Regions from separate parts of the Homo sapiens genome. Here region 2 is linked to region 1. The links are contacts of gene promoters, found by promoter capture Hi-C in human tissues and cell types (Jung and others, 2019). All regions are on one chromosome and are shown on one strand. The core of a region is centred on a gene start or on the middle of the fragment in contact, and the rest is flanking DNA. Distances in the headings are between cores, read along the strand shown.

Region 1 (7,493 bases), core at 3,310-5,809:
TTTTAGTAGAGATAGGGTTTCACCATGTTGGCCAGGTCAGTCTTGAACTCCTGGCCTCAGGTGATCCGCCTGGCTCAGCCTCCCAAAGTGCTGGGATTATAGGCATGAGCCACCGCGCCCGGCCAACCCTTGCTTTCTTGATAATTTCTTTGAGTAGATCAGCTCCAGATTCTACTGGGAGTGAGCGGGGAGCAGTTGAAGGAGATGGCAAAGGAGGAAGGAAGCGCAGAGAACATTCCTCTTACAATAAACTTTCCATTTCTGGAGGCTTCTCAGCCACTCAATATGGGGTGCATTTGCCAGGCCCAACTCACCCCATAACCTCTCCGGCAGGTCTCTGAGCTCCATGCTCCTGATGACAACTGGAACAAAATGATTGCCAGAAGTTCTCTAGACTCAGGAATTTCTGAGACAGCATAATTGAAATATTCAATTCCACCATCCCCATAAATATAGAAATATTTGTCAGACCTTATATTCTGAAGGCTGGTTCAGGAAATATGGGCCTAATACCATTTACAGCTGCTATTTATTGAACTCTTACTATGTGCCAGGCACAGAGTTAATCTCATGGATCACTGCATCTAACCTTCACAGAGAGACTCTCTATGGAAGGGGCTACTGCTATATGCCCATTTTACAGCCAGGGAAACAAAGGCTGGAAGAAGTTATGAACTTTTCCAAAGTCATGCAGCCAAAAGTTGCCGTGCTGACACTGCAGCCTGTCTGTCTGGCTGGGAAGAACTATGGAAAACGCGTTTCTGATCAATGCTGGTTAACCTTCCAGGGACCACTCAGCCTGGACTTGGGGAGGCCCAAATGCAAGGGCATGCCCAACCCCTCTGTAGTCAAGATCAATAATATTTTAAGGAAGGCCGGGCACGGTGGCGCATGCCAGCACTTTGGGAGGCCGAGGTGGGCTGATCACGAGGTCAGGAGTTTGAGACCATCCTGACCAACATGGTAAAACCCCGACTCTACTAAAAATACAAAAATTAGCCGGGAGAGGGGGCGTGCGCCTATAATCCCAGCTACTCAGGAGGCTGAGACAGGAGAATTGCTTGAACCCAAGGGGCAGAGGTTGCAGTGAATTGAAACTATGCCACTGCACTCCAGCATGGGCGTTAGAGTGAGACTCCATCTCAAAAAAAAAAAAAAAAGAATATTTTAAGGCAATATTTGTAAAAATCAAAAGTAATGCAAAAAATTGATAATGAACAAAATATCACAATTTTGGAGAGGGGATCCAATTATAGACTCAGGATTGGCAGGGTTGGGTGGGGGGCTCTCTGTGGGTTTGCCTTTTCTGAGCTGAATTCCAGATTCCTGGAGTAGGTCATGAGCCTTGCGTCACTTTCCCCCTTCTTTGGGCTCTTACAAAGCTGATCTTTCTTGCCTCCTTCCTCCCCTTCAGTTAAATTCCAAAGGAGGATGCAAGCATTGCGGCAATAAAGATTTCCATGCTGAACAGTGAGTTTGTCTGGAATCACAGGGGGATGAGTGAGAGTCAGCTCACTGGGCCCTGCCTCATCTGCTGCTGGTGCTCCTGAGGGGACCCTTAGGGAAGCCCAGGGCCCCTGCGGATGGGAACCTCCCTCCACCAAAGTCTGACCCTGAAGCATGCAGGCCGTTCAGCCGAGGGTGTCCCTGTACTCCTGGGTGGCCAGCTGCTTAGTGTGAATGGTCTCTCTGCATTGCAGGGCCATCGGCCACTCGCCAAAAAGAGAGCTGGTGCATTTGGGTTTTGCTGAGACTCGGAATGCTGGAAGATTCTGCCTGAGCCCAGCAGGCTCTTGGCTTTGCTATCCCTTCCCAATGCCCTTGGCTGTCAGTTCTCTGGAAAGTGGCAGAGAGGAAGGAGCCACAGTGCTGCGTGCCGCCACCAAGGGGAAAGCTCTTCAACCAGGTTCAGAGCCAAGTCGCTGAGAGTTGCTTCTCATCCTTAGCACATTTCCTACCAGGGGCAGGATGAGTTAATTTTCGGGATGGGGATCTAACTGGCTGGCGGTTTAAAGGGCCCTTCTATTTAGCAGCCATGAGGGCTGCTAGAGTTCCTATCTCCCATTGAAGAAGGGGCTTCTTCAAGCAGACAGACCAAACATCATTTCAAAATGAGGACTGCATTTGAAATCTACTGAAGGGGGTGATACCGGGGGCCTGAAGCCTGGGGTTTGAGCTCACTTCTAGGGTGACCAATTCTTCTGTTTGCCTGGGACTGTGGGGTTTCCTACGACAGGATTTTCAGTGCTAAAACTGGAAAAGTCCTGGGCAAATGGAGATGAGCTGCTCACTCTAGTTTGACCCCATTCTTTCTGTGTTCTCACCAACTTTCAGTCTTTCATTTTGCAGATTGAGAGAATCAAGGTACTAATAAAACCTGCTGTCCCCATCTCCCAAACCCGTGGGACTCAAAAGAGCTGACGTCAGTATCCCATGGCACCTTAAGCCTCCCCATCAGGGCACATCCCACTGCTGACACACCTCTGCAGGCCTCTTCTTCCTCTCAGTTTGAGCTTTCTTGGGTGAGACCCCTTTATTCATCTCAGAGCATTCCTGGGCTTGGCTAAGAGCAGAAACTCGGGAAAGCTGTGCTTATAAAGCAAAGCACAAAGCATTCCCACCTGTTGGTTGGTGTCCTTCTTTTCTGTCCTGCCCTGGTTAGCCCCATGGGAAGGTCCTCTACAGGCTCCGACAGACAGGCGTGCCCCTGAGGGCGGCTGTCAGGAGGAAAACAGGGCAGCACGGGCAGGAGGCTTGGTCACTGCTTTGTTCTGAACGAGGCCGGGACAAGGAACCAGACAAAAGGTGGACAGGTATAGTGAGCAACCAGGGAGGGCCTGGTGGGGAGGTGAGGAAGCAGCAGGTCCCCACCCTGGGGAAGAGAAGGGCTTTAGCTGGAATCTTAACAAATAGGCCAATCTCATCCTCCAGCCTCTGGGACTCCAGCACGGACTCCCTTGGCTGCCTGCCTCCCTGACTCTCTCAGAGGCTGCCCATCCCTTGCAGCTCCTTGCGGGGCTGCCTTCCTGGGGGGTCAGCCAGATCTCAGCATGCTGAGTTGTCTGTCCCCTTGGCCTGGACATGGCCCAGCTCCGCAGGGTGATATCTGGTGGGCAGTCTGCCCCAAACCTCAGCCCTCCATCTCCCCCTCACCCCTTGATTCTCCCATCCCAGCCGCAGGCCTGCTTCTCTGCCTCTAGGCTCCTGGACACATAGGGTCTTGGCTTTGGGTGGCCACCCAGGGTCCCAGCTTCAGTCTTAGCTCTCAGAGCCTTAACCTCAGCTGAACTTCCCTGGTAAGCGAGCCCTGTGGCTCTAGGACCACTTGGGGCTGGCCAAAGCATGGTGGGGAGGAGGATGACTCAATGGCAGCCTGATTCAGGAAAGCCCCTCACCAGCCCTCGCCAGTCTGCACCCAGAGGATCCATTTCACGTGTCCTCCAAATCCTGGCTGATCCTGTTTCATTCTCTTGCTGGACACCCTTTCTGGGGCCCAGGAGTGCTGGGACACAGACATGGTCCCCATCACCAGAGAATCCTAGAACTCTCAGTGGAAGAAACCCCAAAGGTAACTGGTCCAGTCTCCTGCATTTGGATGGACTAGACAGAAATTCATGCTCAGAGCACCTAGGCACAGAGAGGGTGAGTAACTTCCCCAGGGTCACACAGTAAAGGAATGATCAGCTGCTCCTGAGCCACCTACCTGAACTCTCCTTTCTCCGCCTGGATGATTTCTTCTCTGTCTCATTGGCAGTGCTCCCAAGCACCCCGTAGTCATCGCCTGGGCCTCCTGTGGTGTCCACCAGGCCCAGGCTGCTGGTCCCCATTTCCTTGGAACCCCCTGCCGGGCCTGAGTTGGGCCTGCGCCGGGCGTCTGAGACAGGGAAGTGCCAGTTGGGGGACTGTGGGAAAGCGGGGTGCTGCTCAGTGAAGATGTGCTCCTCCTGGGGCAGGCTGTGTGGGGTGGCTGCCAGGCAGGAGGCTGAGAAGTCAGGGTACGCTGCCGTCGCTGTCGCCAGGAAGTCTGGTTTCTGGTGGAAGGAGAACGGGGTGGGCGGGTAGTGGGGTAGCCCTGAGGCCCCATTGCCTTCCGAGTGGGGGTTTCGAAGGCAGCCCCAGACAGGGGCTGGGGGCTGGAGGCTCCTCATGCAGCTGCTGGCCGCGGGATCCATCTGCTGTCCGCTGCACGCCTCGGTCCTTTCAAAGATTTGATTCTTTATACTTTTTATGTTCAAATTTTTAAAAATGCAAAAGAAAAAAAACTAAATAGGAGGGAAAAATGTTCAACAGAAAATTTACCCCAGGAACCAAAAAAAAAAAAAAACCCAAAACTAAAGTCTCTCCTTAAAGTACACACACATGTGGCCAGCTACTCCTATGTGTGTGCACACACCTATGTCGGGCTTGCTCCTGCCCCTCCAATGCACCAGCCTACCTACTGGGATCCCCTGTATGTGTATTTGTCGCCAATGACACTAAACATTTTCACTGTCCCAACCCAGACGCACCAGCTGACGAGGAGTTCGTCCTGGAGCCCAGAGCAAATGCCTGCAGAGGGCTGGACCAGGGCTGCTGGGACACACTTTTAAATCCTGCGGTGGGGAGAGAGTGACAAATTTCTGAAGTGAAATGTGAGAGAGGAGAGGGAGGGGTTAACCCACACACACAAGATCCCCTCCAACCAAAACCCTAGCAGGCAACTATTAATCATCAGAAACCTTATATGCACATCTAATGGGATTTGCAGATGGAGACTTTTAAAGAAACATTGTCTGTATTTTTTTTTTAAGGAAAGAGAGCAGCACACACACACATACACACACACCGTCTTTAATGTGCCTCCTGTAACACTATGAAGTTATTTTTATTGCACTGTTAACAAAATTCCCCAAGTCTTGGATTTAGAAAAAGCCTTAAGTCAGATCCAGAATCCATCAAATGCCAAATTCCAGGGAGTGAAGTGAGGAATAAGAGCAAGAGACAAGCTTGGTGATTGCATTTGATTTAAAGGCCCTTCTACTGCTGCCTGCGAAAAAGGAAGGTGGATTAAAAGAAATCTTTTTTGCAAGTCTCAGCGGCCCACTGTGGTCTGCAGTACAAAGAAAGGCACACTCTAGAAAAAAAGAATTTCTCTCTGCCCAGAGTGACATTCTCACTTTCTCAGTAACTTAAAAAAACAATCAGATTCTTCCTTCCGCTCTTTAACCTCCAACATACATGCCAATTAGCCACACTCTTCTCTAGAGAGGTTTCAAGTCATTTTTCTTCACAGCAATGGCAAGGCTCTTAAATAAGGTCCTTGAAGTTTCTTCGGGTCTCCTCCCACCTGCTCCCTGCCCCCTTCACCTCCACCCACCTGCTTCCCTTTCTCATCCCCCAGAGGCGGAGGCTTCCGAGGAATTTGGGGTAGGGAAATAGGAATCAGGGGCTCCTCATTCCCCAAAGGAGCCTCTTTGGCAAGCAGGCACGTGGGTCTCCGGGCTGGTGCACATCACAGGGCAGCCAGCCCAAGTGCCATCTTGATGCCCAGTCTTCCTCATGGCTGCGCCCTGCTGGTCTCTCAGAGGGTTAATGCAATTTCTTGGAGGACGACATTCCTAACACCCAGGGGCCAGAACTCCTTCCCCACTGGTTATTCCCATGGCCCAGAGCAGCAGGATGGGGGCAGAAACAGGCATGGACCTTAACAGCAGCGTCTCTGCTGGCTGCTTCCAAAGACGGCGAGGGTTCCCTGAGGAGGGGCCCCTAGGTCTTAGCTCTGCAGCCTGGAGGTGGGGCCCTGGGGGGTGGGTGCAGGAGATGCTCCTAGGAGGAGCCGAAGGGCACCCAGGGATGTGGAATGAAGCCACGACTGGCCTTTAATCCAGAAACTCCAGTCAGATACACATCCTGGGAGCAGGAGCAGCTGTAAAAGATGGGGAGGGGTGTACATATGAAAAGATGTGCCCTCTTCTGGAACAAGCGGTCAGAGTGTTGTAGACCAGTAGAGTGGATGGGGTCATAGCTGTCAACCAGACTCATCTTTCTGCTTTGCCCAGGGCTTAGCTGTGGCACACACAATTCTCTGAGCCTCACAACTTTCCTAGGATGGGTAAGTAAGAATTATGTCTCCATTTTGCAGATGACAAAACCGAGGCTCAGATGGATGACTGGGCTGCCCAGACTCACACAGCTAAGAAATGGTGGAATCAGCACTTGGCCTCAGGTGTCCTGCTGTTCAGTTTGGAGCAGGCCAGATGCAGAGGAGGAGGCATGGGGTTTGAGGTTAGACGGGTCTGAGTTCAAGCCCCAGGTCTGCCACTTCCTGGCTGTGTGCCCTGGAACAAGTCACCTTATCTCTCTGAACTTCTTTTTTTTTTTTTTCTTTTTGAGATGGAGTCTCGTTCTGTCGCCCAGGCTGGAGTGCAGTGGCATGATCTCAGCTCACTGCAAGCTCCGCCTCCCGGGCTCACGCCATTCTCTTGCCTCAGCCTCCCGAGTAGCTGGGACTACAAGCACCCGCCACCACGCCCGGCTAATTTTTTGTATTTTTTAGTAGAGACGGGGTTTCACCGTGTTAGCCAGGATGGTCTCAATCTCCTGACCTCGTGATCCGCCCGCCTCGGCCTCCCAAAGTGCTGGGATTACAGGCATGAGCCACCATGCCTGGCCATCTCTCTGAACTTCTGTTTCCTCATCTGAGATGACAGTCAGAGTGGGATCTGTGTAAGGCACTTTGCACCTTACACATTTTTACCCCCACGGATTCCCACAAAAGCCTTCTGAGGCAACAGTCATTCTCATCAGCTCCGTTTCTCTCTCTCTCTTTTTTTTTTATCAGCTCCGTTTTTCAGCAGAAGACTCTGATGCACAGATAGACTGTGTAACCTGCACAAGGCCACACAGCAGGGAAGCGGCGGACCCAGGATTCAAATTGAGGCAGCCCAGCCCACAGACATTTGCAAATCTTCAATGAAATCCTTTATGTAGGCCAGGCACGGTGGCTCAGACCTATAATCCCAGCACTTTGGAAGGCTGAGGCAGGCAGATCATTTGAGGCCAGGAGTTCAAGACCAGCCCGGCCAACATGGTAAAACCCCGTCTCTAATAGAAATACAAAAATTAGGCCGGGCGCGGTGGCTCACGCCTGTAATCCCACCACTTTGGGAGGCCGAGGCGGGTGGATCATGCGGTCAGGAGATCGAGACCATCCTGGCTAACACAGTGAAACCCCGTCTCTACTAGAAATACAAAAAAAAAAAAAAAAAGGCGGGCGTGGTGGCGGGCGCCTGTAGTCCCAGCTACTTGGGAGGCTGAAGCAGGAGAATGGTGTGAACCCGGGAAGCAGAGCTTGCAGTGCACCGAGATCACGTCACTGCACTCCAGCCTGGGTGACAGAGCGAGACTCCATCTCAAAAAAAAAAAAAAAAAGAAATACAAAAATTAGCTGGGTGTGGTGGCACATGCCTGTAATCCCAGCTACTCGGGAGGCTGAGGGCAGGAGAATCGCTTGA
Region 2 (7,270 bases), core at 69-2,568, 280 kb before region 1:
TGGCAGTATAGGCATGTGCCACCATAACCGGCTAATTTTTGTATTCTTTAGTAGAGATGGGGTTTCACCACGTTGGCCAGGCTGGTCTTGAACTCCTGACCTCAGGTGATCTACCTGCCGTGGCCTCCCAAAGTGCTGGGATTACAGGGGTGAGCCACGAGGCCCAGCCCATAATTTCTAATCTCGTGGCTAATGTTAGTCCTCCAAAGGCAACCTAGTCCCCAGGCAAGAAGGAAGTCTGCCTTGGGAAAGGGCTGTTAACATCTTTGTTTTAAACTATAAAATAAAATATAAACTAAGCTTCTCCCAAAGTTAGTTCAGGCTATGCTCAGGAATGAATAAGGACAATTTGGAGGTTAGAAGCAAGATTGGGTCGGTTAAGTTAGATCTCTTTCACTGTCTCAGTCATAATTTTGCAAAAGCGGTTTCACAAGCAGTCAATACCAGGAGCCTCTGAAGACCACCATAGCAGTCCTCAGTGCCAGGCAAATCCACTAAAATAGAAACACCAGGCTTTGCCAAGAAGGGAAAACAAAAAGAAAAACAAAACAACTTTATCGCACATTTCATTAGAATTTCAGGGACAGGCTGGGTGTGGTGGCTCACAACTGTAATCCCAGCAATTTGGGAGGCCCAGGTGGGTAGATCACTTTGAGGCCAGGAGATCAAGACCAGCCTGGCCAATATGTCGAAACCCATCTCTACTATAAATACAAAACATTAGCCAGACATGGTGGCACGCACCTGTGATCCTAGATACTCCAGAGGCTGAGGCACAAGAATCACTTGAACCTGGGAGGCAGAGGTTGCAGTGAGTTGAGATTGCATCACTGCACTCCAGCCTGGGTGAGAGAGAGAGACTCGAATTTCCATGGACAGGCATTCATGTTCAGGAGAAGGGGGGTCTGGGCACTGGAGTTGGAGGAAAGAGCCTCAGTAAAGGTACAGAAACGTTAAGCACAGGGCAATCAGAAAATGAGGGGACCGGTTCATACATCTATGACCCATCCAGCCACCTGGGAAGGTAGGATCTGGGCCTTAGCCTGTCCCAGAGAATGCAGTAATGCCCTGTCCCAGAGAATGCAGGCTCCACGTGGGCTCCTTCCTACTGTAATTGCCCCCATTACACCCACATCCATCCCCTCACAGACTGGTTTATGTGCCAGACTCAGCCAGCGGGTGGAGCTTCTCCCGGGAAGCCACACCTCCACCTCCCCAACACGCAGCACCCCAGCCTCGCTCTGACAGGCTCTTCCTTACATCATGGCAGTTTTTCATCAGGGAACCACTGTCTCCACAAGCCAAATGCTGTTGTAGGCCAATCAGACTCTGAAATCCATGCACCTTTGTTAGCAGGTCATCGTGGAGGATGCACCCATCGAAGGTGGCCTTCCACCCCCGTCCTATAAAAAGAAGGCCACTTCAGCAAATAGAATAAAGAGTCTGACAATGTCTTTTTTTTTTTTTTTTTTTTTTTAACTTTCTTGTTATGGACCAATCAGTAACCATGATCACGACCACATTTGAGAATCAGGGCTCTTTGCAGCTGGGGCAATACTTCTGGATCGGGAGCAACTTATCATGGAGGACCTGGTATTAGAGGACACGTTGACAACATAGAATAATACAGGCAAGTACGATCAAGGCATTAAAAGTCCTCACATCAAGATGGACATGGCCTTCTCCCAGTCCATTCCACATACAGCATTTATTTGGCCGGCACTGCTGTCTATTTCTTCAAGAATGCATTTTCTCCTAATCATTCCATTTCAAACAGAGCCACGGCTTTAAATGCTTAGGTTAATTTCAAAAGAGGTGAGTCCCTTTCAGCATCTCATGGGGCATACTGTATCTCCTTTCTTTCTTTCTGTTTTATTTTATTTTATTTTATTTTTTTGAGACAGAGTTTCACTCTCGTTGCCCAGGCTGGAGTGCAATGGCGCGATCTCAGCTCACCGCAACCTCTGCCTCCTGAGTTCAAGCGATTCTCCTGCCTCAGCCTCCTGAGTAGCTGGGATTACAGGCATGTGCCACCACGCCTGGCTAATTTTGTATTTTTAGTAGAGACAGGGTTTCTCCATTTTGGTCAGGCTGGTCTCAAACTCCTGACCTCAGGTGATCCACCTGCTTCAGCCTCCCAAGGTGCTGGGATTACAGGCGTGAGCCACCGCACCCGGCCTGTATCTCCTTTCAAAAAGAGCTGCTGTCCTTGTCCACTTTGGGAAGCCAAGGAGGGCGGATCACCTGAGGACAGGAGTTCTAGGCCAGCCTGGCCAACATGGTGAAACACTGTCTCTACTAAAAATACAAAAATTAATTTACAATGAGCTGATGGACCCACCCGGGGTCAAGACAGTGACCAAGCGAAATGGGCGTGGGCGTCACGAGGTGTCTGCGGAAGGAAGTTGGAGGAGAGTGGTCCGAGCTCTTTTGAGGAAAGCCATTACTGTGAAGAGCGGAGCTTCAGCGGTCTGGCTGGGTCGGAGGCGAAAGCGGAGCCCATGAGCCCCCTCTCCCCCACTGGGGGGGGACTTCCCGGGGCCGCAGAGAGAAGTCCGACTGCGACTGCGAGATCGCGCCCTGAGGGGGCTGCCGCCCTGGGAGTCACAGCCCCGCCCCTCTCCCTGCCCTGTCAGTGGGGACTGGGGACAAACTACTTAACCTTCGGACTCTCAGTTTCCCCAGCTGGGAAGTGGAAACACCACTGCCTACCTCGTGGGGTGGAGGGAGCAGAAACGGAGCCGAGGGCGCGACCGCGGCTCAGTAGTCTGGAATGTGGGTCCCAGTATCCGACTAGCTTCCCCCGAAGGGGTCTTGGCTGTGATACCGAAGCACCTGAGCAACTGCGTTGCCTGCGGACAATACAATAGGAAGCATTTACTGTTTGGCCTAGGCTGTGTGCTAAGTGCTCTCGTCATTACAAACTCGCAAAGGTTACCTACAGAAGGAAACCTTGAGATGGAGGTTAAGCAGCTTAGGCAACAGAGCAAGACCCAGTTTCTACCAAAAAAAAAAATTTTTTTTTAATTATTATTATTATTTTTTTTAAACGGAGACTCGCTCTGTTGCCAAGGCTAGAGTGCTGGAGTGCAATGGCACAATCTTGGCGCACTGCAACCTCCACCTCCAAGGTTCGGGGTAGTCTCCTGCCTCAGCCCCCCGAGTAGCTGGGATTAGATCTTTTAGCAAGTTGGGCAGATGACTCATGCCTGTAATCCCAGCACTTTGGGAGGCCGAGGCAGGTGGATCACCTGAGATCGGGAGTTCGAGACCAGCCTGACACCAACATGGAGAAACCCCGTCTCTACTAAAAATACAAAATTAGCCAGGTGTGGTGGCGCATGCCTATAATCCCAGCTACTAGGGAGGCTGAGGCAGGAGAATCGCTTGAACACCCCTTCTCTGGTCTCATGGAAAAATGGTTTGGAAATGGAAGGGACTCATGACCTCAATCTTTACCTCCCTTGCAATTATTACCAGTGTACTCATTCTTGTAGGTTGTGTCATACCTTGCATTTGTGGATTTGTGCAAAGGCTTATAGAAACAGCTCTTACCAAACCCCTCTCCATTCTCCCCCACCCTACTCAGATAAACTCCTACTTCTAGAAACCAAGAGGAGCAACAAAGCCAAAATATATTAGAGGAATTTGAAGAGGAAGAACTATAAAGTCAGGAGGGGGAAAATTGCCAGAAACAGTAAGTTCCTCTTCAAAGTTTCCTTGGTCTTTCTTGCTCTATACGCAGCCCTTCCTGCTTAATCAGGAAGGAGCACTTGTTTCTCTGTTTAATGGGTAACTAGCAAACCTCTTACTTGGTAAACAACCCTTCCCGCCTAGTTGGTAATGGACAGCCTCTCCCTTCCTGCCTAATTGGCCTTATTCAATTTCAAGCACTAGTCAATTGGGTCAGCTTAGACTGTGCTGTCCAACTCCAGCAAATGGGGAAAGGACACAGAAACAGAAACTGTGTTAGGGATAAAAACCCCTGCTCTACCCGGCTTGATGTGCTCTTGGGATCAGTCAGACGCAAGCTGTACCCTTCTGCAGAAGTAAATGTGCCTTGCTGAGAAATTCTTTGTTTAAGTGGTGGTTTTTCTTTGCAGCACTGAACACTTGTTTCTAACACCTGGGGGGCAGAGGTTGTGGTGAGCCGAGATCTTGCCATTGCCCTCCAGCCTGGCGCCATGGCTCACATGGGAGGCTGAGACAGGCAGATCACTTGAGCACAGAAGTTCGAGATCAGCCTGGGCAACATTGGCAAAACCCTGTCTCTACAAAAAATACAAAAACTAGCTGGGCATGGTGGTTCAGGCTTGTCATCCCAGCTACTTGTGAGGCTGAGGTGGGAGGATAACTTGAGTCCAGTAGGCAGAGGTTACAGTGAGCTGGGATCATGCCATTGCATTCCAGCCTGGGTGACAGCCAGACTCTGTCTCAAAAAAGAAAAAGAAAAAGAAAAAAAAGTGGTGGAATCTCTTACACCAGTAAGGGGGTGTACCTTTTTGCATGCTTAAGATCTTCTATTTTCTTTTCTATGAGCTGACTGCTCAGATCCTTTCCCCATTGGCCTTTTTGAATTGTTGATCCTTTGTATTTGCATCCCTAACCTACTTGTTCTAGTCTATGATTTCAGTTACACATCCAACTTTTGTTTTTTTAAGATGGCTAACCAGTTGCCTCAGCATCATATATGGAGCAGCCCACCTTTTCATCAGTCTGAGATGCCACTTTTATCATATAATAAAGGCCTCATATATACTTAGGTCTATTTCTGAAACTTTCTTTTAAACAAAAGAGCCTTCTGGTATCATGGCTGTTTTTTAAACTTTTGATTGATTGTGTACCTACCTTTGTATACCTACCTTTGTGTACCTGTGAACGTGGCCTTGTCCGTGTGGTTAGCAAGGAGCATGTGTTCCATTCCTCCTCTGGCTGCCCTTCAACACCATCCACTGCTCACAATGCTGCCAGGGAAGCCTGGGCACCTCCAGAGGTGCCAACCTGACCATGCCAAGGCTGCCAACTCCAGGTGCTTCTAAGGTTTTCAGTCCTTGGGCACCAGGAGGCTGCCAGGTTTCCTGCCAGCTGAGGAGAGCAGCCTATTCAACTATTCAACCTATGCAACTCCAGGTCCTGCTATTTCTGTTTTTCTTGGCCCTGATTGCACTTCAGTTTTCGCCCTGTCTTCTGGAATGGCTCCTTCAAATTCCCCTTTTCATCACATCAGTTTTCACAGGTAGTTGAAGAGATCTGCTTGGAGAGAGATACCATTTGTTTCCCTATTTTCCTTTGCCTCCTCTCTGACTCCTTCCACCACCCCTGCCCCCTGCCCAGCCCCACCATTCTTTTCTCTCCCGCCTGGGCCTCTTCACAGTTACCAACCAAAAACTTTCACTTATAGCAACAGAAACAGAACTGTGCCAATCTGTGTGGCCTTGGTGGGGGAAGGGAGATTGTTTGGCTGCAGCAGCCAGCAAAGTTAGTGTTCCATATGGCTCCTTTTTTTGTTTCTGTTTTTTTTTTGGGGGGGGGCGGAATTTCGCTCTTGTTCCCCAGGCTGGAGTGCAATGGCATGATCTCGGCTCACCACAACCTTCGCCTCCTGAGTTCAAGCGATTCTCCTGCCTCAGCCTCCCTAGTAGCTGGGATTACAGGCATGTGCCACCACGCCTGGCTAATTTTGTATTTTTAGTAGAGACGAGGTTTCTCCATGTTGGTCAGGCTGGTCTCGAACTCCCGACCTCATGTGATCTGCCTGCCTCGGCCTCCCAAAGTGCTGGGATTACAGGCATGAGCCACTGCACCTGGCTGTTTTTTTGTTTTTTTGATACACAGTCTCACTTTGCCATCCTGGCTGGAATGCAGTGAAGAGATCACGGCTCACTGCAGCCTTGACCTCCCAGGCTCAAGCAATCCTCCTGCCTCATCCTCCCAAGTAGCTGGGACCACAGGCGCGCATCACCACAACTGGCTAATTTTTTTTGAGACGAAGTCTTGCTCTGTCACCCAGGCTGGAGTGCAGTGACACAATCTCAGCTCACTGCAACCTCTGCCTCTCGGGTTCAAGCGATTCTCTTGCCTCAACCTCCCAAGTAGCTGGCACTACAGGTGTGCGTGTCCAGGTAATTTTTGTGTTTTTAGTAGAGACAGGGTTTCACCATGTTGGCCAGGCTAGTCTTGAACTCCTGACCTCAAGTGATCCACCTGCCTTGGCCTTCCAAAATTCTGGGATTACAAGTGTGAGCCACCACGCCCAGCCACCTGGCTAATTTTTGTTAATTTTTTTTTTTTTTTTGGTAGAGATGAGGTCTACCTATGTTGCCATGGGTGGTCTCAAACTCCTCCTCAAGCGATCCTCCCCCCTCGGCCTCCCAAAGTGCTGGGATTGCAGGCATGAGCCATTGCGCCAAGCCCATATGCCCCTTTAAAAAAAAGATATTTAGTAGAAATGGAGCATCTTGCTACAGTCTTGCTGCTCACAGTGTGGTCCCCAAACCAGCACCATTGATATCATCTGGGGGTGGGTTAGAAGTGCAGAATCACTGGCTCCAGACCTATTGCGTCAGAACCTGCATGTTAACAAGGTTCCCCCAGAATGCACATGCACATCAGAGTTTGGGAAGCATTCTGCTCTGGGACTTGATGACTGAAGGAGGGAGGCTGAGGGAGAGAGAAGAAGCAAATATGTTTTTTGAGACCTCAATTCTCACTACCAATATCTGAAACTTGGGGACCACATGGATTTGGATAACAAGTGATACAGTTATAACTCCAGATGTCTACGCTGGTGGCTGAGTGGGTCTTAGAACACTTTCTGGGGTTATAAAATACAGAATCAGCAAGTTGAGGCAGAAAGGCCTGAAGGGAGATGGCAAATCCGTGTGAGCAAGGCTAAGTCTAAAGACCCATGGGCCAGGGGTGCTTACTGAGAACAGAGTACGTGGCACCATTAGGGGCAGAGGATGGAAGCAAGCACATATGAAACTAGGCATGGTGGCATGCTCCTGTAGTCCCAGCTACTCAGGAGGCTGAGGTGGAGGGTCACTTGAGCTGGGGAGGTCGAGGTTGTGAGCCATGGTCATGCCACTGCCCTCCACCACGGGCCACAGAGCGAGACTTGAAAAAAAAAAGAAAGAGAGAGAGAGGGAGAGAGAGAGAGAGAGAGAGAGGGAGAGAGAGAGAGAGGGAGAGAGAGAAAGAAAGAAAAAAAGAAAGAAAAAGAAAAAGAGAAAAAGAAAGAGAAAGAGAGAAAGAGTTGAAAATCTTGGAG

The links. Contacts are between HindIII fragments. The study calls those that stand out against the background at their distance.
Region 2: a fragment that was not itself captured here is called in contact with the fragment with the promoter of MEOX1 in region 1 in 3 of the 25 tissues and cell types used here (IMR-90 fibroblasts, liver and neural progenitor cells).

What each region holds. Positions count from the first base shown.
Region 1 is chr17:43,657,363-43,664,855 of GRCh38, forward strand. It overlaps MEOX1 (mesenchyme homeobox 1), which reads right to left and starts at 4,560. Exons shown (of 3, transcript NM_004527.4): 1 at 3,704-4,560. The coding sequence starts at 4,172. RefSeq lists an enhancer at 3,313-3,854. The HindIII fragment of the contact is 25,285 bases long and covers 1-7,493 here.
Region 2 is chr17:43,376,411-43,383,680 of GRCh38, forward strand. It overlaps LINC00910 (long intergenic non-protein coding RNA 910), which reads right to left. Exons shown (of 6, transcript NR_027412.1): 2 at 4,863-5,250; 3 at 2,713-2,852; 4 at 1,261-1,403. LOC124904007 (a long non-coding RNA gene) reads left to right here and starts at 3,340. Exons shown (of 2, transcript XR_007065762.1): 1 at 3,340-3,697; 2 at 4,662-4,758. The HindIII fragment of the contact is 6,395 bases long and covers 1-4,516 here.